Linked DNA regions of Homo sapiens: all the other regions are linked to region 3. The links are contacts of gene promoters, found by promoter capture Hi-C in blood cells and fetal thymus (Javierre and others, 2016). All regions are on one chromosome and are shown on one strand. The core of a region is centred on a gene start or on the middle of the fragment in contact, and the rest is flanking DNA. Distances in the headings are between cores, read along the strand shown.

The links. The method cuts DNA at HindIII sites, captures the fragments that hold promoters and counts their contacts. A CHiCAGO score of 5 or more calls a contact.
Region 1: the fragment with the promoter of ZNF329 here is called in contact with the fragment with the promoter of ZNF345 in region 3 in 6 of 17 cell types (non-activated CD4 T cells, total CD8 T cells, total CD4 T cells and 3 more); the score reaches 20.9 in non-activated CD4 T cells.
Region 2: a contact is called between the fragment with the promoter of ZNF154 here and the fragment with the promoter of ZNF345 in region 3, in 2 of 17 cell types (naive CD4 T cells and total CD4 T cells). The highest score is 7.6, in naive CD4 T cells.
Region 4: a fragment that was not itself captured here is called in contact with the fragment with the promoter of ZNF345 in region 3 in 2 of 17 cell types (non-activated CD4 T cells and naive CD4 T cells); the score reaches 16.4 in non-activated CD4 T cells.
Region 5: a contact is called between the fragment with the promoter of ZNF671 here and the fragment with the promoter of ZNF345 in region 3, in 3 of 17 cell types (non-activated CD4 T cells, naive CD4 T cells and total CD4 T cells). The highest score is 15.4, in non-activated CD4 T cells.
Region 6: a contact is called between a fragment that was not itself captured here and the fragment with the promoter of ZNF345 in region 3, in 3 of 17 cell types (naive CD4 T cells, total CD4 T cells and naive CD8 T cells). The highest score is 10.5, in naive CD4 T cells.

Annotation. Positions count from the first base shown.
Region 1 is chr19:58,147,633-58,152,450 of GRCh38, forward strand. It overlaps ZNF329 (zinc finger protein 329), which reads right to left and starts at 3,157. Exons shown (of 4, transcript NM_024620.4): 1 at 3,120-3,157. RefSeq lists an enhancer at 3,234-3,293. The HindIII fragment of the contact is 7,703 bases long and covers 1,704-4,818 here.
Region 2 is chr19:57,705,810-57,710,756 of GRCh38, forward strand. It overlaps ZNF154 (zinc finger protein 154), which reads right to left and starts at 3,395. Exons shown (of 3, transcript NM_001085384.3): 1 at 3,130-3,395. The coding sequence starts at 3,162. RefSeq lists enhancers at 2,983-3,622, 3,366-3,495, 3,516-3,575. The HindIII fragment of the contact is 9,236 bases long and covers 1-4,947 here.
Region 3 is chr19:36,847,917-36,852,326 of GRCh38, forward strand. ZNF345 (zinc finger protein 345) reads left to right here and starts at 2,960. Exons shown (of 3, transcript NM_001242472.2): 1 at 2,960-3,052; 2 at 3,914-3,988. It also overlaps a transcript of ZNF790 not described here. RefSeq lists an enhancer at 2,483-2,722. The HindIII fragment of the contact is 2,588 bases long and covers 2,723-4,410 here.
Region 4 is chr19:57,764,573-57,769,604 of GRCh38, forward strand. No RefSeq gene overlaps it. Among named protein-coding and RNA genes, the nearest start is that of ZNF586, 2.6 kb to the right of the region's middle. RefSeq lists an enhancer at 4,828-5,032. The HindIII fragment of the contact is 2,477 bases long and covers 2,545-5,021 here.
Region 5 is chr19:57,726,109-57,730,440 of GRCh38, forward strand. It overlaps ZNF671 (zinc finger protein 671), which reads right to left and starts at 1,516. Exons shown (of 4, transcript NM_024833.3): 1 at 1,283-1,516. The coding sequence starts at 1,420. RefSeq lists enhancers at 1,215-1,715, 1,233-1,672, 1,813-1,862 and a silencer at 1,669-1,894. The HindIII fragment of the contact is 7,103 bases long and covers 1-2,259 here.
Region 6 is chr19:57,236,380-57,241,014 of GRCh38, forward strand. It overlaps ZNF805 (zinc finger protein 805), which reads left to right and starts at 4,253. Exons shown (of 4, transcript NM_001023563.4): 1 at 4,253-4,542. The coding sequence starts at 4,513. RefSeq lists enhancers at 3,851-4,070, 4,091-4,360 and a silencer at 4,481-4,550. The HindIII fragment of the contact is 1,631 bases long and covers 2,571-4,201 here.

The DNA.
Region 1 (4,818 bases), core at 1,907-4,406, about 21 Mb after region 3:
AGGAGGGAGGTGGGGGGCCAGCCCCCCGCCCGGCCAGCCGCCCTGTCTGGGAGATGAGGGGCGCCTCTGCCCGGCTGCCCCACTGGGAAGTGAGGAGACCCTCTGCCCGGCCAGCCGCCCCGTCCGGGAGGGAGGTGGGGGGGGTCAGCCCCCCCACCCGGCCAGCCGCCCCGTCCGGGAGGTGAGGGGCGCCTCTGCCCAGCCGCCCCTACTGGGAAGTGAGGAGCCCCTATGCCCAGCCACCACCCCGTCTGGGAGGTGTACCCAACAGCTCAATGAGAACGGGCCATGATGACAATGGCGGTTTTGTGGAATAGAAAGGGGGGAAAGGTGGGGAAAAGATTGAGAAATCGGATGGTTGCCGTGTCTGTGCAGAAAGTAGACATGGGAGACTTTTCATTTTGTTCTGTACTAAGAAAAATTCTTCTGCCTTGGGATCCTGTTGATCTGTGACCTTACCCCCAACCCTGTGCTCTCTGAAACATGTGCTGTGTCCACTCAGGGTTAAATGGATTAAGGGCGGTGCAAGATGTGCTTTGTTAAACAGATGCTTGAAGGCAGCATGCTCCTTAAGAGTCATCACCACTCCCTAATCTCAAGTACCCAGGGACACAAACACTGCGCGGAAGGCCGCAGGGTCCTCTGCCTAGGAAAACCAGAGACCTTTGTTCACTTATTTATCTGCTGACCTCCCCTCCACTATTGTCCTATGACCCTGCCAAATCCCCCTCTGCGAGAAACACCCAAGAATGATCAATTAAAAAAAAAAAAAAAAAAAGAGAGGAAGGTAAAAAATTTCCCTGTTTCTTCTTTTCCAGGTTCAGATTGGCAGGAAAAAAAAATTACAAATAAAAAACAATTAGTTTTTTGAAAAAAAAAAAGTATACTTGGGTGTGATAATAACACTAGTTTTGTTTAAATGTTCAAATGTTCTTTTTGGCTGGGTGTGGTGGCTCACACCTGTAATCCCACCACTTTGGGAGGCCAAGGCAGGAGGACTGCTTAAGACCAGGAGTTCAAGAACAGTCTGGGCAACATAGTGAGATCTCATCTCTATAAAAAATACAAAATTAAAAAATAAGAACGTTACTTTTCTTATGAGATCCTGGCTGAAGTATTTCAGAGTGAGGTATGATATCTATAACATACTTCCAGTAACTCAGCCAAAAAAACTAAGTGTATGTAAATATATGTCTGTATCACACCTGCCTCTGCAACACCTGCTGTGTGTACAAGTGTGTGTAAAATATAAAAAGAAAACCCTATGTCAGAGGCGTTTGAACCAAAGCAAACCTCCATCTTAAATGGGGACTGGGTAAAATAAGGCTGAAACCTACTGGGCTGCATTTCCAGACAGTTAAGGCATTCTAGGTCATAGGATAACACAGGAGATTTGCACAAGATACAGGTCATAAAGACCTTGTTGATAAAACAGCTTGCAGTAAAGGTGGCTAAAACCCACCAAAACCAAGATGGCAACGAGAGTGACCTCTGGTCCTGCTCCCACTAGCACCATGACAGTTTACAAATGTCATGGAAACATCAGGAAGTTACCCTATATGGCCTAAAAATGGTAGGCATGAATAATCCACCCCTTGTTTAGCATATAATCAAGAAATAACCATAAAAATGGGCGACCAGCAGTTCTTGGGGCTGCTCTATCTATGGAGTAGCCATTTTTTTATTCCTTTACTTTCTTAATAAGCTTGCTTTCACTTTACTCTATGGACTCGCCCTGAATTTTCTTTCCCAAGATATAAGAACCCTCTGTTGGGTTATAGCTCGGGACCCCCTTTCTGGTAACACCTATGCATGTGTCTCAGGCAGGGAGAAGATAAAGATAAAGCTAATGTGGCAAAAAGTGTTAATAATTTTAGAATCTGGATGGTTTTAGAAGTGTTAAACTATTCCTGCAACTTCTATGCAAATGCGGAACTTTTCAAAATGAAAAGTTGGGTGAAGAGAGAGGTAAACAAGCAGTAGAATGGAGGAAAGTCACTTGCTGTGGGAAAAAAGAAAAAACAGACAAAAACTGGGTATTCAAAACGTACTTCAACAAGCCCAAGTTCCTATAGCCAAATTTTTTAACTTGGCAAAAAATAAAGGACCTTTTCAGGCTGATGGTAATTTTAATAAAGGTTTAGGTTGCATTTGTCAAAATTCATCAATGGTACAGGGAATATCTGTGCATTTCACTGAAAGTCAATTTTGGCTCAAAAAATTTAAAAAAGCACTACTGAACTCTAATTCATGGTAAGCATAGTGAGGTGTTTGAGGGAGAAGTGTTGTGATATCTGCAACTTACTTTGAAATGTTTCCAAAAATAGGTGGATTAATGAATGGCTGAAAGGATGGACAGAAGGAAAGATAAGGGATACAGTAAGTTCAGCAGACGTTAACCGGGTCGTTCACTGCACAAGTCTTTCAGCTTCTCTATCTAAACCAACATTTTATGTCATAAAATATTGAGACTGGAAGACTGCACAAAGGAAATATGCCACTAAACCAAGGGAAAAGACAGCAAAATGGTCACTAAACACGTGCAAAAATGCGGCCCTCACTGAGAATTGCAGTAAAACATGATTTTGCAAATATCAAATGGAAAAACACACAGGTGATCTAACACCTTCGAGACTCAAGGGGAAGCGGCTCAGCCCACTGGCTCACGGCCGCCAATTCAGCCGGAGGCCGACCCAAGCCTACACTGCCCCTCACACCTGACAGAAAAGCTGCAGACTCGGGGGTTACCCCCGGAGACGGACCAGGACACCCAGCAGGCGTGGCAAAACAGTCTCTATGGGAGGGCGGGCTAGAGATGCGAGCGCGGAACTCACGGGTGACGCTAAGGAAAGAGCGGGGGCGTCCAGACCAGCCCCGGAGCGACCTCGTCCTCAGAGGAGTGACCCCAATCGCCACGGAGCGTCCCCACCCACCAGGAGAACTACGCCCCTGGCCAGACCCTCGCCCTAGCGGGCCCGACATGCCCACCACCCAGGTGAAACCCACCCGCGGACGCGCCCCTCGCCGCCCCACAAGGACCCGGCGGACCTCCACCCGCCAAGACTTCCCTCCGCAGGAAACGGAGGCAGCGCAGGGCTCAGGGATGCGTCGGCACTTACGGTTGGCGGCCGGCGGCAGCCATGTTCCGGGCGATTGCGCTTGCGCGGCTGCCGGGACAAGGATGTGCGCGTGCGCGGAGTCCCCGAGCTTCCCCCGCCCAACGCTGGGGCGGCCGCGGGTACCGGGTTATTCATTACCCTGGCGTGGACTTGCCTCGGGGCGGACGCGCAGGCATTTACTTTCTCCTATGGTCTCCTCTGATTTTTAACCCGATGCTATCATTCTTTTGTTATAGAGCCTTCCTTTTATTTACTGCATAATTTCCTAAAATATTTCTTTATCTATAATCTTTTTTTGAGATAATAATGTTAAAATTCAGAATAAGTACACTCATTATTCATTGGCAATATAATTATTTACTGGGTGCGTGGCTCACGCCTGTAATCCCAGCATTTTGGGAGGCCTAATTTGTTAAAATGACTAGATCTAAGAAATGTAAACAAAGCCAGTAACTTTCCTCTGTAGTAACAATAGCCGGTTGAAAATGAAAACTACACATTTTCATTCTTTCAGTGGTTCTCTTAAACTTTAGCATGGGGAAGCCTAAATATTTACTGACAGGGAAGAGAGAAACTGTGGTATGTGCAACGGAGCAATAGGGGGTGGTTAAAACAAACGGACTGGGCTCACCTAAGGTCAGGAGTTTGAGACCAGCCTGGCCAACATGGTGAAACCCCGTCTCCACTAAAAATACAAAAATTAGCTAGGCGTGGTGGCAGGCGCCTGTAATCCCAGCTCCTCGGGAGGCTGAGGCAAGAGAATCACTTGAACCTGGGAGGCGGAGGTTGCAGTGAGCTGAGATCGTACCATCACACTCCAGCCTGGGGGACAAGAGGGAGACTTCGTCTCAAAAAAAAAAAAAAAAAAAAGGACTAACTTATATACAAGATAGACAGTTCTCCAAAAACAGTTCGAAAAGTAAACTGTGCACTTATCCACATGATACAACTTACCTGGAAATAAAAGACACAAAATCTATATGTTATACAGAGATTGATACATAAGTAGTAAAGTAACAATAACATGGACCAGATAGATTGTCCAACCTCAAGAAAGTGGCAACTGAGGGGAAAGAGTTGGGGAGGAGACAAAGGAGACCTCAGTTACACCTGTGATGCTTGATAGGAAAAAACAAATCAAAACCTGAAAATCTGACTACATGTTAACACAGGTAAAATCTCGATGATACATGGGTGTCATCTTTATTATTTATAGATTATTCTATTACTCTCCGAACCTCTCCGCAGGTTGAAATACTTCACAATTTTGAAATGAAAATTAGAAAAAAAATTCTAAGCCATAATAGTGATTAAATTGTCACTCACAATAGTGATGGTTGGAGCAACTTGGAAATCAATTAGCAAAAGCAATAAAGGATCTTCATGAAGAAAATACAAAAACCTCATTAACAGACCTGAAGTTAAGTTCAGAACACACTGACATATTATTCCTGAATGGAAAGTATTTTTTTAATTTCTCCATGAAGGCCGTATCAGACCAGGCACAGTGGCTCATGCCTGTAATTCCAACTCTTTGGGAAGCCGGGCTGGGGGGATCACCTGAGGTCAGGAGTTCAAGATGAGCCTGGCCAACATGGTGAAACCCCATCTCTAAAAATATAAAAATTGGCTGGGCACAGTGGCTCATGCCTGCAATCCTAGTACTCGGTCTCAAAAAAAAAAAAAAAATCTTCACAAA
Region 2 (4,947 bases), core at 2,145-4,644, about 21 Mb after region 3:
ACCTGGGAGATGAGGACAACATGTACCACACAGGGTCACATGGGGGTCTAGTCCAGAAAAAAAGTGAATAACCAAAAACTGTGGGATGCAAGCACTTTGAGAACAAAAGGATCAACTGCCCCCTGGTTCCCACAATGGGCTTGTTTGGAAAACTCCATGACCTGGTAGGGAGCTGAAATCTGCTACAAAGTGATAGGCAGAAATTGTGCCTGGTCTCCTTGATTAAAAGGGTTGTCTGTTTGGGAGAAGAGTAGGGAGGGAAACTTGTACTCAGGCCATTTGATGCCACCCTGATTTCACCAGATGTCATACTGGGCCTTAATTTTAGACTTTACACCATAACTTAGCACACAGCGTCCAGAGTATGCTCGACAGATTCAAACGGATCTAATACTACCCTAGATCTCCCAGGGCATCCACTAGTGGTAGCAGCCCCAAATCCTATGAGGGCTCCCTGGCTGGCTCCATTCTTTGCCTCAGATTTAGGCCACACAGAACCACATGTGCATCTCAGATACCCATGGCCCTATTCCACTTCCGTGCTGCACTTGCTAGCCCCTCAGCAGTAACAACCTTCCTCTGTCCACTTAACACTCAAAGACTAGCTCCACTGATCACCTACCCCAGGCCAAGTGACTGTCACAGATGACCACATTGGCACCTGGCCTTATCCTCCAGGTTGAATAAACACCCTAGGCCCCATCAAAGTCATCAAAAAATCCTGGTGATTCCACAGAGTGCTGAATAAGCACAAAGGAAAAAAAGGACAGCCATTTGCCTCAAATACACCTATGCCTCTGCATCCACCTTATATCCACTCTTCCCTTGAAAGTGTATGCCACCTGCCCAACTATCCTCTCCAAACACCCTACCTCCATAGCCACTAACCTCCCTTACCTCTGTTTAGAAAGCCCAAGAATATCACCCACTTATCCAACCAAAAGGCTTGGTCCTTAGCCCCCATTCTGCCCTTCCTGGCCAAATAACCTGTACCACCATGCCTAAAGATTAACCCTTGTAGGCCGGATGCGGTGGCTTACGCCTGTAATCCCAGAACTCTGGGTGGCTGAGGCGGGTGGATCACCTGAGGTTGGGAGTTCAAGACTAGCCTGACCAACATGGAGAAACCCTGTCTCTACTAAATAAATACAAAATTAGCCGGGCGTGGTGGCGCATGCCTGTAATCCCAGCTACTCGGGAGGCTGAGGCAGGAGAATTGCTTGAAGCCGGGAGGCGGAGGTTGTGGTGAGCCAAGCTCGCGCCATTGCACTCTGGCCTGGGCAACAAGAGAGACACTCCATCTCAAAAAAAAAAAAAAAAAATAGAACAACCCTTCTAAATGTAATCCACAGCTCACTCACCTTAGTCCACACAATGACCACCACATTTTGGATGTCTCCATTCTGAAGCACTCCCCAGATTTCCAGACCTGGGTGTTCAGCCACCTACTTAATGCCTACTTAATGTCTCTGAAACATCTCAAACTCTTACATGACCAAATAAAGCTCCTGTTGTCTCCAGTGAATATTACTGTTAATACCAACTTCTCCATCTCAGTTGAAGAACCATGGGGTCATCGCTGAATCCTGTTTCACTCCCTCGCTGTCTACATCAGAAAATTTAGTTGCTCCCTTTAAAAATTTGCATCCAGAATGCAACACATCTCCTAATCAATGACTCTGGTCCATTACCCTGGACTGGCTGTAGCTTCCACTCTGATCTTCTTTCCTCTTCCCTCAACCCCACAGTCTGCTCTCCACGCTAACGGGATGGACCCTGTTAGGACTTTGGTAAGATCACCTCCCTCTTGTAACCCAAATCTCTCATTACCTCCAGAATAGGTACCCAACTTCTCAGGCAGCCACTGCAGTCCTGACTCCTTCCCCCTGCTCTTTGTTCCCAGCTAAAAGGAAACAGATCTATGGTTTCCTCAAAAATCTCAGCTTAGTTTTACTAAGCACTTGCGCCTCCTGATACCAGTGCCAGAGATAACCTTTCACAAGTTTCCACTGGCTGACAAAAATGGGAACACCTCAGTATAACCCCTGTAACCTCTGGCATGGACTTAAGAGCCCTGGGCTTGGAATTTCTCCAGGGCACCAGACCCAGGATTGGGGTAACAGCACTTAAGAATACTAGGAAACCACAATCCCAAGAACATGGGGGTAGAGGCTACTGAGGGACCGAACACTCTCCACTTCCCTATGTGAGTTCCATACGCCCTTCTACAACTGGGAGAACCAGGGAAAGAGGAATGCATCCCTGGTGAGGCTAGATGAGCTCAAGCCTCCCTGTAGCCCTGCCTGGCCCTGAACTCAGGCTGGCTGTTTTACTTTCTGGTCTCAGTGCTGTCACCTCTTGCCAACTGTAGGGCAATGAAAAAAAGATGTAGCCTCCCACTATCTCAATGTCCTCATCGCCCCATCGCTGCTCTTCCTGTGAACAGTCTTTGGAAAAGTTTTTAAACCCTAACATAGGGCGGGCACGGTGGCTCACGCCTGTAATCCCAGCACTTTGGGAGGCCGAGGCAGGAGGATCACTTGTCAGGAGTTCCAGACCAGTCTGGCCAAAATGGTGAAATCCCGTCTCTACTAAAAATACAAAAAATTAGCCGGACGTTGTAATCCCAGCTGCAGGCTTGTAATCCCAGCTGCTGGGGAGGCTGAGGCAGGAGAATCGCTTGAACCCGGGAGTCGGAGGTTGCAGTGACCCGAGATCGCGTCATTGCACTCCAGCCTGGGCGATAAGAGCGAAACTCCGTCTCAAAGAAAAAAAAACTAACATAAATGGCGTCCCTCCTTTGTTCAGAACTCTCCGTGGCTTCTAGCATCCTCACAATGACAGTACAACCCTAGGAGTAACTCCGCCTCATATTCTTCGTTCCCTGCAGAAAACAGCTTTCCGAATTCTCCTGGCTCAGTCGCGCCTCAACCTTTGCACGCGCCGGTTCCTCCGCCTGTCACGCTCTCCCACACCTCGTCACACGCAGTGTCAAAAAAAGGGCCCCACCCACGAACGCCTCAGTGTCCCCGACCCTGGGCAGCGGGGACTCGAGCAGGCGCCCCTCACTGATGGCTTTAGAACGTGGGTGGGGGAAGGTGTGTGAGGACGGGAAGACGCCGCACTCACCTGAGTTGGCGTCCTCAGAGTGGCCGCTGCCATCAGACTCTGCGGGTAGAGCTGGGCCGGGAGCGACGGGCGACATTGGTAGGGACCCGGGGACAGCGGTCCCTATCCCAGGCCTGACGTGGGTCCCCCAGGGCGGCGTCGCCAAGGCTTAGACGCTTTCGTGCAGGAGGGACGACGACTCCCCTCACGCCTTCGTGGCCCCAACTCGGCGCTCTGCTATCTCTGATCCGGTGAACACACCTCAGAGAAGCTAAAATGGCCGCCACGAAGAGGCCCCCCCAAAAGTCCCGTCCTTTCTTTTTGTGACTCTCAAGGAAAGTCGGTTTTCTGAGCTCTTACTGGCTTAGTAGCGTGGCGTTCAACGCAGAGCATTCTAGGTAATGTAGTTTTCATAGATCCCGAGGTGGGTGCCGGGGACCCTTTGCACCAACCTCTTGGAGTAAAAGCGAAGCTCCAGGGCGCTGGGCGATGAGAAATGGCTTATCCAAGTCCTAGGGCAGTGGAGGGACTTCGCCCTTTCTTAAATGGGTCGTAATCAGACAGCATATTAGAGGTGCCATCTGCAACTGATCACCCAAGTGTTTGGGGAATATTATTTCAAACTTCATAAAGTTCAGCAGGCTCCCAGAGGCTAAAATTATTATCAGACGCTCCCTAAGGCTGCCAATCCAAATATGTACATCATTCCATAGAGCCATTCAGACACGAAATATATCCACTAGTAGGGAAGCTAATAAACATTACCATATAAGTTTATTCCTTTTTTTTTTTTTTTAAGACAAAGTTTCCCTCTGTCCCCCAGGCTGGAGTGCAGCGGCGCCATCTGGGATCACTGCAACCTCCGCCTCCCGGGTTAATCGATTCTCGTGCCTCAACCTTCCAAGTAGCTGGGACTATAGGCGCGCGCCACCACGCCAGGCTAATTTTTTGTATTTTCAGTAGAGACAGGGTTTCACTATGGTGGTCCCAAATTCCTGGCCCCAGGTGATCTGCCCGCCTCGGCCTCTCAAAGTGCTGGGATTACAGGCGTAAGCCACCGTACCCAGCCTCTATCATATTACATTTCAAATGTATGCACTCCGAAGCATTGAAGTCAGTCTGTGCACTTTTGGTCAGGGACAGGTGAAAAACTACTTCAGATAGTGGCATGATAGTGCTTCTAGAAGATAGAAGAGAAATGTTAGATCACCTTGAAACAGTAGTACAAAGGTAGAATTCTGTCTGATTCCAACAGAAAACATCTTTTGCCTGCATAGTCAATTATTGTGTCCAATTACTGTGTCCAGTCAATAACTGTGTCCAATTCACTGAGCAACGCTTTTATCCATTTCATAATTCTTACTTGATATCTGAGATATATTCCTTCTAGAAGTCTAACATCAATCTCAAAAAACAATGAAAGAAATGCTACTTTGATAAGAGACAAAGGGGAGAGGTGGGACTTCTTAATCAGAAAGCCGGTGAAATGCACTTGAAGGAAGTGAGAAATGAGCCATGTGGGTATTTTTAGAATAAATTCCAGGCAGAAGAAGCAGGTTACTAGAGTGCCTGGATGGATGGAGACTTCACAGGGCATTTCAGCATTGGAGGGCCTAGGGCTCCAACCCAGCAGGCCTTCATCTGCTTTGCTGGCTGCAGAGACACTCAGGGTATATAGGTGAGAAATCTCTTCTTTTTTTTTTTTCTTTTTTTTTGAGATGGAGTTTCACTCTTATTGCCCAGGCTGGAGTGCAATGACGCAGTCTTGTTTCACTGCAACCTCTCCACCTCCTGGGTTCAAGCGATTATCTTGCCTCAGCCTCCCAAGTAGCTGGGACT
Region 3 (4,410 bases), core at 1,710-4,209:
GCAGCAAGGTCCCATCTTGGAATCAGAGAGCAGACCTACCAGACACCTATCCTGCTGGCATCTCAATCTTGAACTTCCCAGCCTCCAGAACTGTGGGAAATAATTTTCTATTATTTACAAATTACTTTTCAGGTATTTTGCTTCTCAGGTATTTTGCTGTAGAAGTACTAAGGGACTAAGACACTTCAGTTCCTGAAATAGCACCAGAGTAATAAATGTGAAAGATGTCTTTACTGTTCATTAACCAACCCCTTTCAACCACAAGTGAGTTAATGAGGTGAAGTTAGTAAAGCCCCTACATAACCACAGGATAGGGCAACCAAACATGTGATTAGAATGTTGGAAAGTTCTGCCCTACCCCATGACTTCTGGGAAAAGGAAAAGGGCTGAAGGTTGAACTCATCACCAATCGCTGCTGATTTAATTAATCATGCCTACATAATGAAGCCTTCATAGAAACACAAAGGGCTGAGTTCAAACAGCTTATTTCCCGGACTACCCCACAGGCGTTTTCTTTTTTCTGTTTTTTAGGAGACATTGGTGGGGTAAACATACAAAAATGTGATTGCCTCACTCAACCAAGAGCCTTAGCCATAATTAAAAGATGTTCAGATGGAGCTGTACAGGAATGTGATGCTGGAGAACTAGAGCAACAGAGCCACATTAGGTATAGATCGCTTGCCTGTATAGTCCAAATTTTGTTGTTTTTGTTTTTTGGGTCTTTTTGTTTGTTTGTTTGTTGTATTTTGTTTTGTTTTAAGGAGCGGAGAGTTTAATAGGCAAGAAGGAAGGGAGAAGACAGAAGGAAGAAGTTCCCCCATACAGAGATGGGGGTTGGGGGGGTGGTGGCTCCAAAGCCGAAAGAGGAGGTCCCCTTGTTTTTTGGGGGTTTTTTGAGACGGAGTCTCACTCTGTCATCCAGGCTGGAGTGCAGTGGTGCGATCTCAGTTCACTGCAACCTCTGTCTGCCGGGTTCAAGCCATTCTCCTGCGTCAGCCTCCAAAGTAGCTGGGATTACAGGTGCACACCACCACGCCCAGCTAATTTTGTATTTTTAGTAGAGACGGGGTTTCACCATATTGGCCAGGCTGGTCTTGAACTCCTGGGCTCAAGTGATCCACCCACTTCAGTCTCCCAAAGTGCTGGGATTACAGGCGTGAGCCACCGCACTCATGCTTGGTTTTTTTGTTTTGTTTTGTTTGTAGAGAGTATGCTGTTCAGGCTGGTCTCAAACTCCTGAGCTCAAGTGATCCTCCTGCCTCAGCCTTCCAAAGTGCTGAGATCACAGGCATGAACCACCATGCCCGGCCCTTCCTGCCATTGTTAAAAGCTTCAGGATTATATTTTACATCAGCATTTCCTGTTGTCATACACTTCCTGCCATCATATTTCGGCAACCTCTACCACCTCCCAAAGTTTCTAGCTTAAAAAATTATTGATTTCCTCCTAGCTCCCCTTTCTGTCAGTTTTTTAATTTTATATTTGTTTTCAAATGAGTCCTCACATTGATTTTAAAAATTTAACAAGAGTATAGTGAAAAGGAAGTTCCCCTTTCACTATTTATCTTCCCCATATGCATCTATTATGACGGGTTTCTTTTTTAAACTACTTGGAGTACTCATAACTGATTTTGTACTCTAGTTCAGAAGAAATGTCTGAATGTTAAATGTTTACATAAAAAATGCTATTTTATTATATCAGTAATGGAGCTTCCCCCCTTTAAAACTGCTGCACCAGGAAGATACAACCTTGTTATCACAATTTAAAGAGAAAATGAGACTTGGAGGTTCAGATTCCTCCACAGTCATAGTATCAGCTACCCACGCAGTGACCCACATTCAGGTGATTACACACACTCATACACAGATCCATACACGATCTTGCCCCCCCCACCTCCACACACTCAATATGACCTCCCCACGCCCAAAGCTGCACACATCTTGACCTCACTTCTCTCACACACACACCAATCTGACCCGCACGCGGTTTCTTTCACTCAACTACCCAGACACCCCTCATCCCACCAGCACAAGCAGGCCCACCGCGGTCTCACACACACTCGAGCCTTCCTTTGCCCAGTCTCACATGCATGACTGGGATCGCGGATTTGTCCCCTTCCGACTCCCCATGCTGGTTCGGTCCCAGACGCTCAGGTGCCACATTGGGGTGCGCTCTCCCGGCTCCTCCACACGCTACGCAGCTGCCCGCCTCAAGAGCGTCTGCGTGCTTCCAGCGTTAAGTGGAATTCCAAGCAGCCTCCGGGGCACAGTTAGTCTGGTCACTGCGGCCAGACTGCCGCCTCAGGACCCAGAGAACGCAGCACACTTTAGTTGGGCCCATCTATCCCCGGCGAGGCTTGGACTACGTTTCCCAGGAGACCCTGCGGTCCAGTATGTCTCCCGAGGAGGGGCGGAAGCCCGGGAGCCGCCCTCTGAGGCTGGGCGGGGTGAAAGAAAGCTTGCCCCAGAGGACTTAAACAGGCAAGAAGGACTTGGTTAAAGACTATTGCAATAGTCAACTTCCAATACAACAGCAGCTGGAGATTTATAGCTAACGGGCTGGGTGAAGGAGTTAAAGGATGCTAAATTACTAAGAGGAAGTTAAGTATCAAGAGTGGGGGGATTGTTACTAAACTGGCTTAGCTGGATTCTTGCTGAAGTGCTGTTCGCAGGCTATGGAGGAGGCCTGGCCAAGCAAAAAGGGCTCAGAGGAGCCTGACTAAAGCTTGGTCTAGGGACTCCTTGTCAGGTGAGACTCCCGGAAGGCTCCGATGGGCAGCTCACCTCAAAGAGATAGTTTTGTTGGTGCCAGAGTCCGCGCCAGGGGAATCGGGATGGCTGGGCTGTAGCTTTCGGCAACCTGTCGCTTTCTGGACTACACTTCCCAGAAGCCTCTAGGCCCAGGGCACTCTCCCGCGATAACTAGATTGTCTCTTGAGGAGTGGGCGGGATCTTCCCGCGGATTTGGGCAAGCGGCCTTGGGGCTTTGTGAGATAGCTAGGGTCGACTTGTGTGGATTCTAGTAGAACGGAGCTGACCCTATCCGAACAGGCGTAAGTGAGGCGGCTCGGAGCCTGGCGCGACAGGAACTCCCGACCTGTGTGGGCTGCGTGGGGAACAGGCTAAGGAGCGATTGTGAGGAGTGTGTACGGTTGTGACTGGGGGCGTGTGTCTGTGCGACCGTGTATGGAACTGTGAGGGCGGGGAGGAGGACTTTTTGTTTATGTTTGTGCGGGTGTGAGTAGAGTTTAATTGTGACCGGGTTGGGCACTGTGTTTGCGAGTGTGAGGTTCCTGGACCGCGGTTGTGACTGTATGTCCCCTTGGGGTGTGTGTGTGTGTGTTTACTACCATTTGCCGAACTGTGTGTAGTATGCCTTAATTTTGAGGTTTGTGGCTGCTTCCGTGTGTGTGTGTGCGCGCGCGTTGGTGATATTGTTGATGGAGGGTGCGTGTGAATTTGTTGTCATTGTGACCCCAAGGTGTATGTCACTGGGAATTTGAGAGATGCCCACGGACTCTGTGGTTGTGTCCGTGTCTACCCCCGTGGTGTGTATGAGTGTGTGATTGTGTGTTGTGTTTAGGTTTGGGGTGCCTGTGACGTTTATGTCCCTGCGGTGTGAGTGAGTTTGTGTGACTATGTGTCCGTATAGCCAATGTAGGTATGGGGAGTCTTTGTCTTTGTGACTTCAGCCATTGGAGACCCCTGTGAGCTCAGGGACAGGTTCTGCCCAGAACGGCATTGACCCTACCGTTGTCTGTGATGCCCGGATTAAGCAGGATGCCCTAGACTTCTCTGACCTTCCTCTGTAGGTGATGGGCAGTAGGGGCTGAGCAAAGATAACTTCTGACATAGTCAAACCAACTCCCTCTCAGAAGAACCTGATGTTTCCTGACTGCTTTCTCCTTCCTCAGCCCTGCCCTGCTTGGATAGAGGCCTCCGAACAGGAGTAAAGAATGGCTGTTGAACATCCACAAGGCACCTGCAAGGTAGCTTGTCCTGTCCTCTTGTTTAAGAAAAATCCCTTTTTCTTTGTCAGGACATAGTTGCTTTCCTTCTCTTGAAAATTCTTGCCTATGAGATGACCTGATCCCTGGAGTTTCCATTTTGAGAAAATGTGGTGTCTTCAAACCCCACCTCCCACACCTGATTTTCCCTTACTGATTTGTCAGATGGTTTTAATTTTTCTTTTTCTTTTTTTTTTCTTTCTTTCTTTTTTTTTTTTTTTTTTTGAGACAGAATTACAGGCGTGAGCTGCTGTGCCCGGCCTTATCCTTCTACTCTTGATGGACATTTGTCTTGTAATTTTTGGCTACTACAGGCAGTGTGACTATGATCATTTTGTGCGCATATTTTGGTACACATTTGCTTGCATTTCTTTAGAATATATACCTAGTGATTAAATTGCTGA
Region 4 (5,032 bases), core at 2,533-5,032, about 21 Mb after region 3:
ACCAACATGAAGAAACTCCGTCTCTACTAAAAATACAAAATTAGCCAGGTGTGGTGGTGCATGCCTGTAATCCCACCTACTCGGGAGGCCGAGGCAGGAGAATTGTTTGAACCTAGGAGGCAGAGGTTTCAGTGAGCCGAGGTCGCAGCATTACACTCCACCCTGGGCAACAAGAGCGAAACTCCATCTAATAAACAAACAAACAAAAAAAAGACAACAGGATTTTAGGCTTGGCTGACTACTGTCATAGCTGGATGTCCAATTTTTCTCTAATGCCACAGACTTTATATGCATTGTAGAAAGATCAGCCTAACCTCATACACTGGACATCAGAAGGACAAATAATAAATAAAGAAAAATCTTACAAGCCCCCGCTTTGGCCCATGCAAATTATTAGCTGCTGTTTTTCCTTTCTTTGTTTTTTGCGATTTTTTGTTCATGTAAGGCATGGCAGTTCCCTGGGTGTTCTAATTGAAAAACCTGGAGGACAATGTAGGGCTATTGGTTATTATAGTCAGCAATTAGACCATGTAGTACATGGGTGACCTCTTTGTCTGAGGGCCATTTTTGCCACTGCCATGCTCCTTACGATTACTCAGAAAATTGTAATGGAGGCTCCTCATTCTATAGAAGCTCTTTTGAATTCACATAATACACAGCAATTTTCCATTAATAGATTGGTTTCTTATGACAAACTTACACTGTCTGCTTCATATGCTGCCCTCTCTATCTGTAATACTCTTAATCCTGCAGTGCAACTTCCTGAAACAACAGATGAAATATTTCATCACTGTATTCTACTCACAGAATTGGTGTCCAGACAGGATTTATAGGACACATCATGTAAAAATGTTGATATTATCTGGTTCACAGATGGATCGGATCTAAAGGATACATTTTGAAAATACTGAGCAGGCTACAACCTTGTGTCTCTTGTGGACATCAGAAAGAGCAATCCCACCGGGTGCGGTGGCTCATGCCTGTAATCCCAGCACTTTGGGAGGCTGAGGCGGGCGGATCACAAGTTCAGGAGTTCAAGACCAGCCTGGCCAATATGGTGAAACCCCGTCTCTACTAAAAATACAAACATTAGCCGGGTGTGGTGGCAGGCGCCTGTAGTCCCAGTTACTTGGGAGGCTGAGGCAGGAGAATCGCTTGAACCTGGGAGGCAGAGGTTGCAGTGAGCCTAGACTGCGCCACTGCACTCCAGCCTGGGCAACAGAGGGAGACTCTGTCTCAAAAAAAAAAGCAAAAAAAAAAAAAAGCCATCACTTGCCTCAAGTAAAATCAGCACAGCTAGCTGAATTAACAGCACTCACCAGTTTGTCAACTGGCCAAAAATCAAATGGATAATATTTATACTTAAAGGTATTATGCTATTGGTGTAGCTCATGACCTTGGGATGTTATGGAATCAGGCTTTTTTTTTTTGATACAGAGGCTTGCTCTGTTGCCCAGGCTGGAGTGTAGTGGTGCAATCTTGGCTCACTGCAACCTCCTCCTCCCGGGTTCAAGCAATTCTCCTGCCTCAGCCTCCCGAGTAGCTGGGATTACAGGCGCTCGCCACCACCCCCGGCTAATTTATTTATTTATTTATTTTTTAGATGGAGTCTCGCTCTGGCTGGAGTGCAGTGGCGCAAACTCGGCTCACTGCAAGCTCCGCCTCCCGGGTTCACGCCATTCTCCTGCCTCAGCCTCCCGAGTAGCTGGGACTACAGGCACCCGCCACGGCGCCCAGCTAATTTTTTGTATTTTTAGTACAGACGGGGTTTCACCGTGGTCTCTATCTCCCGACCTCATGATCTGCCCACCTCGGCCTCCCAAAGTGCTGGGATTAAAGGCATGAGCCACCATGCCTGGCCAATTTTTGTATTTTTAGTAGAGACAGGTTTTCACCATGTTGGTCAGGCTGGTCTCGAACTCCTGACCTCATGATCCGCCCCCCCACCCCCCACCCCCCCACTGTCCCCCAAAGTGCTAGGATTACAGGCATGAGCCACTGTGCCTGGCCAGTGAGGTTACTTAACCTCCCCCAGATATCTAATTAAACATGGCTCTCAAGTTTCTGATCATTTAGAAGCCATCCGATTATCAAAAAAGAATGTTTTATTAACGTTCCTGAACATTCAAACTCACCTCTCCAAAGAGTAAAAAAAAATTATTTCGCAGATGCAGCAGCAAAAAGACTCTCTTGACACCAATATCACATGAAACTATAAAAGTCACTACATTCAAAATAAGTGCCATTGAACAGGAACTCCAAGGGATTCAAAAAGAGGCTTCAGATAAGAAAAAGTAGATATGGCTAACAAAGCGGTAATGCTTTTCCCCCATTTACAAATTTTGGTGTGGACCCAACAGGAGACCCATCTTGCCTTTGAGATTTCAATTTCTTATGGTACAACATGTTTATGAGCCAACTCACGGGAAATCTGAGAAAATGATTGTTTGGGGAAAGAAATACTACTGGAAACCCTCACCTCCATTACTGAATAAAGTTTACACTAAATATCCAATTTAATTTATACAAAGCATAATCCAAGAAAGCTTTTTTTTTTTTTTTTTTTTGAAACGGAGCCTCACTCTGTCCTCTGTCACCCCGGCTGGAGTGCAGTGGCGCGATCTTGGCTCACTGCAGCCTCCGCCTCCTGGGTTCAAGTGATTCTCCTGCCTCAGCCTCCTGAGTAGCTGGGATTACAGGCATGCGCCACCACACCCAGCTAATTTTTCTATTTTCAGTAGAGACGGGGTTTCACTATGTTGGTGAGGCTGGTCTCGAATTCCTGACCTCGTGATCCGCCCACCTCTGCCTCCCAAAGTCCTGGGATTACAGGCATGAGCCACCGCACCCGGCCAACTTTTTTGTTTGTTTGTTTGTTTGTTTGTTTGAGACGGAGTCTCGCTCTGTCCCCCAGCCTGGAGTGCAGTGGCGTGATCTCGGCTCACTGCAACCTCCGCCTCCCGGGTTCAAGCCATTCTCCTGCCTCAGGCTCCGGAGTAGCTGGGACTACAGGCGCCTGCCACCACGCCCAGCTAATTTTTTTGTATTTTTAGTAGAGACGGGGTTTCATCATATTAGCCAGGATGGTCTCGATCTCCTGACCTCGTGATCCGCCCGCCTCGGCCTCCCAAAGTGCTGGGATTACAGGTGTGAGCCACCGCGCCCAGCCAACTTTTTTTTTAAGTATAGAAAATTTTACAGGTTGGGCGCGGTGGCAGGCGCCTATAATCCCAGCTGCTCGGGGGGCTGAGACAGGAAAATCACTTGAACTTGGCCAAGAGGCGGAGGTTGCAGTGAGCCGAGATCGCAGCAATGCACTCCAGCCTGGGTGACAGAGCGAGACTCCATCTCAAAAAAAAAAAAAAAAAAAGAGGTGGAGATTTCCCAGAACTGAGGTTCCCTCCCCTTTTTAGACTATATAGGGTAACTTCCAAACATTGCCAGGGCATTGGTATACTGTCATGGCGCTGGCGGGAGTTAGTATGCTAATGCATTATAATTAGCGTATAATGAGCAGTGAGGATGACCACAGGTCACTTTCATCACCATCTTGGTTTTGGTGCGTTTTAGCCAGCTTCTTTACTGCATCCTGTTTTATCAGCAGGGTCTTTGTGACCTGCATCTTGTGCCAACCTCCTATCTCATCCTGTGACTAAGAATGCCTAACCTGGGAATGCAGCCGAGTATTTCTCAGCCTTACTTTATCCAGCCCATTTTCAAGATGGAGTCACTCTGATTCCAATGCCACTGACAATGATAAGCACTTGCCAGCAAAGAGGTGAACGCATGGATTTAAGGCACTTGAAATATCTCAGTGTAAAAGCACCCTGTGCATGTAGCAGGACGAGCCGCAGACAAAACCTCTCAGACACCGAGTTGCAGAAGGAAGGGCTTTATTCAGCTGGGAGCATTGGCCAGCTACTGTCTCAAAATCTGAGCTCCCGGAGTGCACAATTTCTGTCCCTTTTAAGGGCTCACAACACTAAAGATTTCACATGAAAGGGTCGTGATTGATTTGAGCAAGCAAGGGGTATGTGACAGGGGCTGCATGCACCGGTGGTCAGGGAGGAACAGAACAGGGCAGGGAGTTTCACAATGTTCTTCTATACAATCTAAGGAATCTATGAATAACATCGGCTTCTAAATCATAAGTTGATTTTTAACTACTGGGTTTAGGCCAGGCGGGCCTAGGCCTGGTTTCGGGCCTGGCGCGGGGTTGCCTGTCTTTGGTTTTACTTCCTTGTTGTTTTTACTGAATATAAAACAATGTGAGAGGGTCTCTCTCTTCTCTCATGCATACATACTCCATGTTTGAACACCGCAGCCATTGTCCTGTAACATAATAGCATTTGTCTCATTAGCTTTTTGATGTTGATATCAGATTTCTAGAGGAATCTGTAGGTTAAAGATATAAATAAAAGTGTTGCTAATGGGCTGAGAACGGTGGTTCACGCCTGTAATCCTAGCACTTCGGTAGACCATTGCAGGCAGATCACTTGAGGCCAGAAGTTCGAGACCAGCCTGGCCAAAATGAGGAAACCCCGTCTCTACTAAAAATACAAAAATTAGCAGGGTATGGTGGCACACGCCTGTAATCCCAGCTACTCGGATGGTTGAGGCACGAGAATCGCTTGAACCCGGGAGGCATAGGCTGCAGTGAGCCAAGATCACACCACTGCACCCCAGCCTGAGTGACAGAGAGAACTATGTCTTAAAAAAAAGACAAAAAAAAAAAAAAAAGGAAGAAGCCGAGCATCACAAATTCTGAAATAAGAAGTCTCCAAACACGCGGGCAATCAGTTGCACACAGTACCCCCAGAAATGTGCGTATGGCCTCTTCTAAGATGGGAGACCCTCCTCCGCATCTGGACCTGGAGTCGCCATTTCCTAGCGCCCCTCGCAGTGGAGCTTGCCCCTTTCTTCGGAAAGTCGGAAGAAAGCCACCTTAAGCGCTGCCCATGTCTGGGAACTACATTACCCAGAATCCGCCCTGCGAAATGGTAACGTGGCTGAGCCAATGAAGCTTCAGAGA
Region 5 (4,332 bases), core at 266-2,765, about 21 Mb after region 3:
CACCTCCCCACCCCACCCCACCCCTCCCACCTCCCCACCCCCGTCTCTACTATAAATACTAAAATTAGCCAGGGGTGGTTGTGGGCACCTGTAATCTCAACTACTTGGGAGGCTGAGGCGGGAGAATCTCTTGAACCCGGGAGGTAGAGGTTGCAATAAGCCACTGCATCCCACCCTGGGCGACAGAGTGAGACTTCGTCTCAAAAAAAATAAAAAAAATAAATAAACTAAAACTAAAAGAAAACACACAAAATGAGGGTGAGATAATCAGATAGTAGCAATAGCACACCACCCATCGTTGCCATCCCAGGCCAAACTCCTCATACCCTACAGCTCTCTCCTCCTGCAAACACTGAAAAGAACCCTTTCAAATGGCAGGACCCTTCTCTTCTGGGGGGAGTCTCAAGAATGCCCACTCCCTCTTCCCTGCCCTGCAGTCCCAGCCTTCTCATCTCTTACCCCAGAGATATGAAATAACATACTTAAGACTGCCCCACTTAAATCTGACCTCCTGGCCTTGACCTACTCCAGACCGCTCCCTTCACCCCAAAGATATTCTAAGCCCAGCCCCTTCCCCACAACTTCAGACCTTCCTCTCTAGTTGCCTAAGTGAGGAAGCCTCCACTCTGAGACATCTCAAAGTCACCATTCCAAAATCCAAACGTTCATGGAAAAACAACAAAAACACCTTGCTCTTTCATGCCTTACTTTCAGTCATAGCTGCATATGATGGAGCAGAAAATCCTGTTGGTTTCAAATTTAAAACCTACCCAGAATATGATCACTTCTACCCACTCACCTGCCATTACTCTTGGTACATCCACCACCAAAGCATTCCTGGAATCCACTGCAGTAGCCTCCTTACCGGTCTCCTCGTATCCATCCTCGCAGTCCCCACCCCAAACTAATGTTCTCCCCTGAGCAAATTTCGAGACACTTAAAATCCCAGCTAAGATCACGTCCTTCTATTCAAAACCCTCAGTTAATCTCAACGCCCTCAGAATGAAGCGACAACTTCTCAGCCTGCCATTCCAGTCACAGTTCCTCAAACTCTGCTCTGTGTTGATGAGAACCCTGTCTCCCAAATGTTTGGGGGTCAGCAGCACCCCCGAGCCTTTACCTGCGCCGTCCCCTCCGCCCGTAACTCTCCCACACCCACCCACACCGAGATAGGACCCCGCCCCAAGAGTGCGTCGCTGTCCTGGGACACAGGGGCTGCAGGCACTTTACGATTCGGAGTCGGAGAAAGGGTGACTGAGGGCCCGGAGGACGCAGCACCCACCCGCGCGGAGTCCGTTAGCTCCGCCATAGGACCGTGGGCGCGGACAGCTGCCGGGAGCGGCAGGCGTCTCGATCGGGGACGCAGGCACTTCCGTCCCTGCAGAGCATCAGACGCGTCTCGGGACACTGGGGACAACATCTCCTCCGCGCTTTCCCAACACCTCCACCTGCGGCCCACACAAGCGTTACAGAACCCCGGCCAGGGACAGCCTGACAGAAACAAAATGTCCGCTACAAGGAGGAGCCGGAAGTCCCGCCCACGCACCCCCCGCAGGCACTGAAACACCCCTCTCCTGGGCCCTCATTGGGTATGCAACGTATAGGTTTGTGGGTAGAGTGTGGTTCCCACTGAGCTATCCTTCAAGGCAGGGGATTCTCGGCCTGGGCTCTTGGGAAAACTCGAAGTAGGAGGGCCAAGTTGTTTGGGAAAAGTAACCCGAGTTTCAAAGGGCTGACAGGACTTCCGTCCTCTTTTTTTTTTTTTTTTTTTTTTTTGAGACAGAGTCTCGCTCTGTCTCCCAGGCTGCAGTGCAGTGGCGCGATCTCGGCTGACTGCAACCTCCGCCTCCCGGGTTCAAGCGATTCTCCTGCCTCAGCCTCCCAAGTAATTGGGACTACAGGGGCCCGCCACCACGCCAGGCTAATTTTAGTACTTTTAGCAGAGTACGGGATTTCACCATGTTGGCCAGGCTGGTCTCGAACTCCTGACTTTGTGATTTGCCTGCTTCGGCCTCCCAAAGTGCTGGGATTACAGGAGTGAGCCATGGTGCCCGGCTGACTTCTGTCCTCTTAAAAGGCCTGGACCTAGATTCCCTGGAGTGTAGTATGCACCGATCGCAGAAATGTTGAGACATTTCAGATGTTCCCCAAAGCTGCAAAACTAAATAGATACACCACACCACAATGTCTCTTTGCGTACACTCACAGCTAGAAGCTAATAACTATTACCTTGTTGCTTTTTAAATATGTGTGCACTCAAGCTTTACAGTAACTTTTGTGAGCTTCAGTTTGGTCAGAGACGGAAGAGAAAATATTCCAAACAAGGCCTTGGAGTGGAAGAAGGAAGAGGGATGATGTGGAGTCTCCCTGAAACCAGTGGACAGATTTCTTCAGAAAACTCTTCCTGCCTGGGTAATCAGTGATGTCTCCATCACAGCAAAACACAGTGCAATTACCATTTAACCTGTCATTGTCATTGTAAGTATGGTGTCTGTGTTAGGAGGTGAGATTATCCCCGGGGGAAAAATCCTGACAGCTATTAATAATGATTCCGTAGTTATTTGAAGATAATGAAAGAAATTGCTCTAAGGAAATATCTGTGATAGATGGACAAAGTTAAGATCTCAGTAAAGTTTGAGCCTGAATACTAAAGTATAAGTGAAAGAATGAAGTTAAGCATATGGTTGTGTTGTGATCTTGACCACACTTTGTCAACAAAATGTGACTCTTTTTTCCTGAAAATGCTGAGCAATTGTAAAGAAGATATCAGAATGGTAAAAATCAACAGTGAAGTTGTGCTGTCTTGATAATTCACTGTTAAAATACACATCCAAGGAACACATACGAGCTCTCAGTAGGTGTTTTTCAAATGTGTTAGTAGCATGAAAGACATCACTAATAAAATTTCCAAGATTCCTATACATACAGGACATGTCCTGCATATAATGATTTTTGTCCTGCATCACCTTTTGACTTTGTCACAATACCCTAAATAAATATTCTAAAGAAGGCAACAGTCTTAAAGAAAAGAATTTTCAACCCGGAATTTCATATCCAGCCAAACTAAGCTTCATAAGTGAAGGAGAAATAAAATACTTTACAGACAAGCAAATGCTGAGAGATTTTGTCACCACCAGGCCTGCCCTAAAAGAGCTCCTGAAGGAAGCACTAAACATGGAAAGGAACAACTGGTACCAGCCACTGCAAAAACATGCCAAATTGTAAAGACCATCAAGGCTAGGAAGAAACTGCATCAACTAATGAGCAAAATAACCAGCTAACATCATAATGACAGGATCAAATTCACACATAACAATACTAACCTTAAATGTAAATGGGCTCAATGCTCCAATTAAAAGGCACAGACTGGCAAATTGGATAAACAGTCAAGACCCATCTGTGTGCTGTATTCAGGAAACCCATCTCACATGCAGAGACACACATAGGCTCAAAATAAAGGGATGGAGGAAGATCTACCAAGCAAATGGAAAACAAAAAAAGGCAGGGGTTGCAATACTACTCTCGGATAAAACAGACTTTAAACCAACAAAGATCAAAAGAGACAAAGAAGGCCATTACATAATGGTAAAGGGATCAATTCAACAAGAAGAACTAACTATCCTAAATATATATGCACCCAATACGGGAGCACCCAGATTCATAAAGCGAGTCCTTAGTGACCTACAAAGAGACTTAAACTCCCACACAATAATAATGGGAGACTTTAACACCCCACTGTCAACATTAGACGGATCAACAAGACAGAAAGTTAACAAGGATATCGAGGAATTGAACTCAGCTCTGCACCAAGCGGACCTAATAGACATCTACAGAACTCTCCACCCCAAATCAACAGAATATACATTTTTTTTCAGCACCACACTACACCTATTCCAAAATTGACCACATAGTTGGAAGTAAAGCACTCCTCCGCAAATGTAAAAGAACAGAAATTATAACAAACTGTCTCTCAGACCACAGTGCAATCAAACTAGAACTCAGGATTAAGAAACTCATTCAAAACCACTTAACTACATGGAAACTGAACAACCTGCTCCTGAATGACTACTAGGTACATAACGAAATGAAGGCAGAAATAAAGATGTTCTTTGAAACCAACGATAACAAAGACACAACATACCACAATCCTGGGACACGTCCAAAGCAGTGTGTAGAGGGAAATTTATAGCACTAAATGCCCACCAGAGAAAGCAGGAAAGATCTAAAATTGACACCCTAACATCCAATTAAAAGAACTAGAGAAGCAAGAGCAAACACATTCAAAAGCTAGCAGAAGGCAAGAAATAACTAAGATCAGAGCAGAACTGAAGG
Region 6 (4,635 bases), core at 2,136-4,635, about 20 Mb after region 3:
TCTGTGACAGCTTCATGTGGCAGCTGCTCCCTGCACCCATTATAAACTGACTACCACAGTAAGCATCTAGACTCCTCAGCTGTAAGCTCAAATGTTTTTTGATCAATGCAGTCAGTTACACCAGTATTTCTCCTAACTTTAGTTGTTAAGCACTTTATATGGAGTTTGCCTTGTTAATGTTACTCCTATCATTATATTCTACAAAGTCTCCTCATTGTGAAATATCCAGCAGTTGCAGGCATGATTTCTGCTATGACCAGACCCACTACGTAAGCATAAATAACTCAGCCACTTCACTTGGATGAAAAGCTCCCACTATTGCAGATCTATAAGTTAAATACTCCAAGACATTGGTTCATGGTTTTTAACCTGCACTTTCAGTATTTACCTCTTTTTTGTTTTTTCTTTCTTTTACCTGCATGGGGAGACACAGTGCTTACCTCTATATGCTTTGCTTCATCCTATCAGTTTTCCTGAATTAACATTTTAAACACTTGGCAATTCCTAATAAATTAACTGGTTCACACATATAAACTCTTACACATTTTAGGTGCTGGATAAACACATCACTGGGCACATTTTTGGCAGGTAAGGATAGAAAAATCACTAGGGCCTCAGCACTGATCACCAGATGATATATGTTTAAATAATGAAAACTCTGTCATGCTTTACATGAGGGATTTGAAAGTGTCCCCAGGCCGGGCGTAGTGGCTCACACCTGTAATCCCAGCAATTTGGGAGGCTGAGGCAGGCAGATAAACATGTGAGGTCAGGAGTTCGAGACCAGCCTGACCAACATGGTAAAAACCTGTCTTGACTGAAAAATACAAAAATTAGCTGGCCATGGTGGCTGTAATCCCAGCTACTTGCGAGGCTGAGGCACGAGAATCACTTGAACCTGGGAGGTGGAGGTTGCAGGGAGCCGACATTGCGCCACTGTACTCCAGCCTGGGCAACAAAGTGAGACTCTGTCTCAAAAAAAAAAAATTGTCACCAATATCTACATAGCTTTCTTCAGCAGCACTGATTCCAGACATTCCATGATGGAATATAAATATACTAACTTTAATATCTGTTCTGCATCCAAAGCGAAAACTAATTTAACCCTACGGGTCATACACATATGGAAAGGAGAATTATTCCTCTCTTCTAAATTGGGCAAATTAGTATTGTCAATGATGAGTAACAGTGTCAACAGCTTGCACGCTAATTAAGCAACATTTCTCAATAATCTCATTTTACAAATAATACCTTCTAGAAAATTGATTCCATCTACATTTCCACCCAGTTAACATCCTGTCATGATACTTTCTCCACTTTCAAATCTCTGGAGGGCATTTTCTGCACACCTTGTTTCCATTTTCATAACCATATGTATTGTCAAATCATTGAAAGCTGGATTTTATTCTCTAACCTTCATAGTCATGAGAAGAAAAAAAACAGTCACCAACGGAGACTACAAAGGTTTTGTATAATATGATTTTTTTTTTTTGAGACGGAATCTTGCTCTCTGGCCCGATCTCGGCCCACTGCCGTCTCCGCCTCCCAGATTCAAGCGAGTCTCCTGCCTCAGCCTCCCAAGTAGCTGGGATTACAGGAACCCGCCACCATGCCCAGCTAATTTTTGTATTTTTAGTAGAGACGGGGTTTCACCATGTTGGCCAGGCTGGTCTCAAACACCTGGCCTCAGCTGATCCACCCGCCTTTACCTCCCAAAGTGTTGGGATTACAGCCGTGAGCCACTGCACTCGGCCTGTATAATTCTTAAAAGATTGTTATGACCCTAACATGACTTTGTTGCTTTCTTGTTTGCAACCAGTTAGTTCAGGGTTGTCAAAAGGCCAAAATTACAACAAATTTAGTTTTAGATCTAATTGACTTTTGTTTGTGATTCATGAATTGAGGCAATCTCTGTTCTACACAATAGAAATTAGAGTTCCCACTGGGCAATGGCAGAACAGTGGGTTTTGTAAGGTGGGAACAATAAAATAGAACAATAGAAAAAAAAGCTGATTGGTTAACAGATTACTTTTTCTAAGGGTTAAAGCAGAGGGGACTTCCTAATTTCACTAATTCAGGTAGACTGAAATCTGCTTTTAGGAAAAACTGGGATCTGTCTGCTTCCTTAAAACTTCAGTTTGATTAGATGACATTTAGTATGAGAGACGCCATTTTGATTTGGTCAGTGAGGCCTGCTGTAGGAGCTCCAAAACAATGGCCTCCTGTAATTTTTGTTTAACAATGTTCACCTCTTTCCATTCCTTTCTCCATCTATGCTCATTTTTTTTCATGGTCTTGTCCAGTATCATAACTTGAAATAACAGTGTTTGCCAAAAACTTCCAGATTTTTATGTCCAGGCACAACTTCTCTCCCAATATTCAGTCAGAGATTGAACTGCTGTGACACAGACACTCTGTGGTCATACAGACATTTCAAACTGATCATGCTTAAAGTTGGAGTCATGAGCTCACCCAGTCCAAGACTCCCCACGTTAAGGAATGTCAAATCTACTCTACCAGGGCTCTCAGCCAATACCTAAAGCAAAAGTTGCTGGACCATGTGAAGACCAAGCTTGGCCAAAGAAGGCCCAAGAGAGACAATGCATTTGCAACATGTCCCAGCTGGACAGGGTCTTGCTCTATTGCCCAGACTGGAGTGCAGTGGTGCAATTACAGGTCATTGCAGCCTCGACCTCCTGGGCTCAAGAGATCCTCCCATCTCAGCCTCCTGAGTAACTGGAATTACAGGGGTGTGCCACAATGCTCAGCTAATTAAAAATTTTTTTTGAGTAGGCTGGATGCTGTGGCTCATGCCTGTAATCCCAGCACTTTGGGAGGCCAAGGTGAGTGGATCACTTGAGCACAGGAGTTCAAGACCAGCCTGGGCAGCATGGTGAAACTGACTACAAAAACTACAAAACAAAACAAAAAAACCCTCAATTTGCTGGGCGTGGTGGTGCGTGCCTGCAGTCCCAGCTACTTGGGTGGCTGAGGTGGGAGGATCACTTGAACCCTGGAGTTTGAGGCTGCAGTGAGCTGTGATCGCGCCACTGCACTATGGCCTGAGCAACAGAGCGAGACCCTGTCTCAAAAAATATATATATAAATATATATATAAATATATATGTGCATATATATACGTATATATACATATGTATATATACGTATATATGTATATATGTATATATAAATATATGTATATATAAGTAGAGAGAGAGAGAGAGAGAGAGACGGAGTCTCACTCTGTCGCCCAGGCTGGAGTGCAGTGGCGCGATCTCGGCTCACTGCAAGTTCCGCCTCCCGGGTTCACATCATTCTCCTGCCTCAGCCTCCCGAGTAGCTGGGACTACAGGCGCCAGCCACCACGCCCGGCTAATTTTTTGCATTTTTAGTAAAGACGGGGTTTCATCGTGTTAGCCAGGATGGTCTCGATCTCCTGATCTCGTGATCTACCCGCCTCGGCCTCCCAAAGTGCTGGGATTACAGGCGTGAGCCACCGCGCTCTATTTTTTTTCTTTTCTTTTTCTTTTTTTTTTTTTTTTGGTACCAATGAGGTCTCGCTCTGTCGCCCAGACTGTTCTCAAACTCCTGTCCTCAAGCGATCCTCCTGCCACAGACTTCTGGGACCACAGGTGTGCGCCAGCACACTCAGCTTATTTTAAAAAAATTTTTTTTTTTTTTGGTAGTCTCCCTATGTTGCTCAAGCTGGTCTTGAGCTCCTGGGCTCAAGCGATCCGCCCCCCTTGGCCTCCCAATGCGCTGGGATCCCAGGCCTGAGGCATCGCGCCGCCCGACGTCCCCCTTTGGTTACTCTGACTGCCCGCTGATCTGTATAAGAGGATCCGGAGGGGAAATAATGCAAGGTGGAAGTCAGAGTCCGGAGCCTGGTCCAGGGTCTCTGCACTGGCCCTGACCCTGGCAAATGTCCCTGACTCCTGGGGCTCGATTTCCTCCGGCCAAGAATGGACGGTCTCGCGCTTGGTCCCTGGCCTCCGAGTTGTGCCCCCAGGACAGAGGCAGGTCTGAGCCGGGCTGTAGGCCCGCTGCGACTTTTACACCGAGGCCTGCCGGCTCAGGATCTGTCCCCTTTGCAGGTGGTTTGTAGAGAAAAACTACATTAACTACAAGGCATTGCCAGGTGCGACGGCGGGCCCTGGGGCCAATGATGGTCCAGGACAGGGGCGTTTCCTGTGGGTTGCGAAGCTTGGGGCGGGACTTCCGGCATTTGGATGGGACGTAATTTGGGAGCGACGGTTCCGTCCACGCCGGCTCTAGGGAGGGGGCGGTGTTCCGTGGCCGCCTCCCTGGCGGCGCTGGGGAAATGAGCAGGTAGGAGGCCGACAGCGACCTCCGCGTCTCGGAGCGAACCGTGAGCCTCCCCGTAACGAGAGAGTTTGACTGTCAGCCAAGGTCACCGGGCCCGGCGCAGGGAAGGGGTGGGGCTCGGCTGAGCCCGCGAGACCCGCCCTGCTCGCCGCAGCCCCCGCCCCGCTAGGGCCACAGGGTCCCGGTATGGCGATGGCTTTGACGGACCCGGCGCAGGTGAGTGGACAAGGTTTCGGCCTTGCTGCTTTTCTGCTAGTTCGGGGAAGCCTCCTGGGCAGGCCGGAAGCCAAGACAGCCACAGGATTCCTC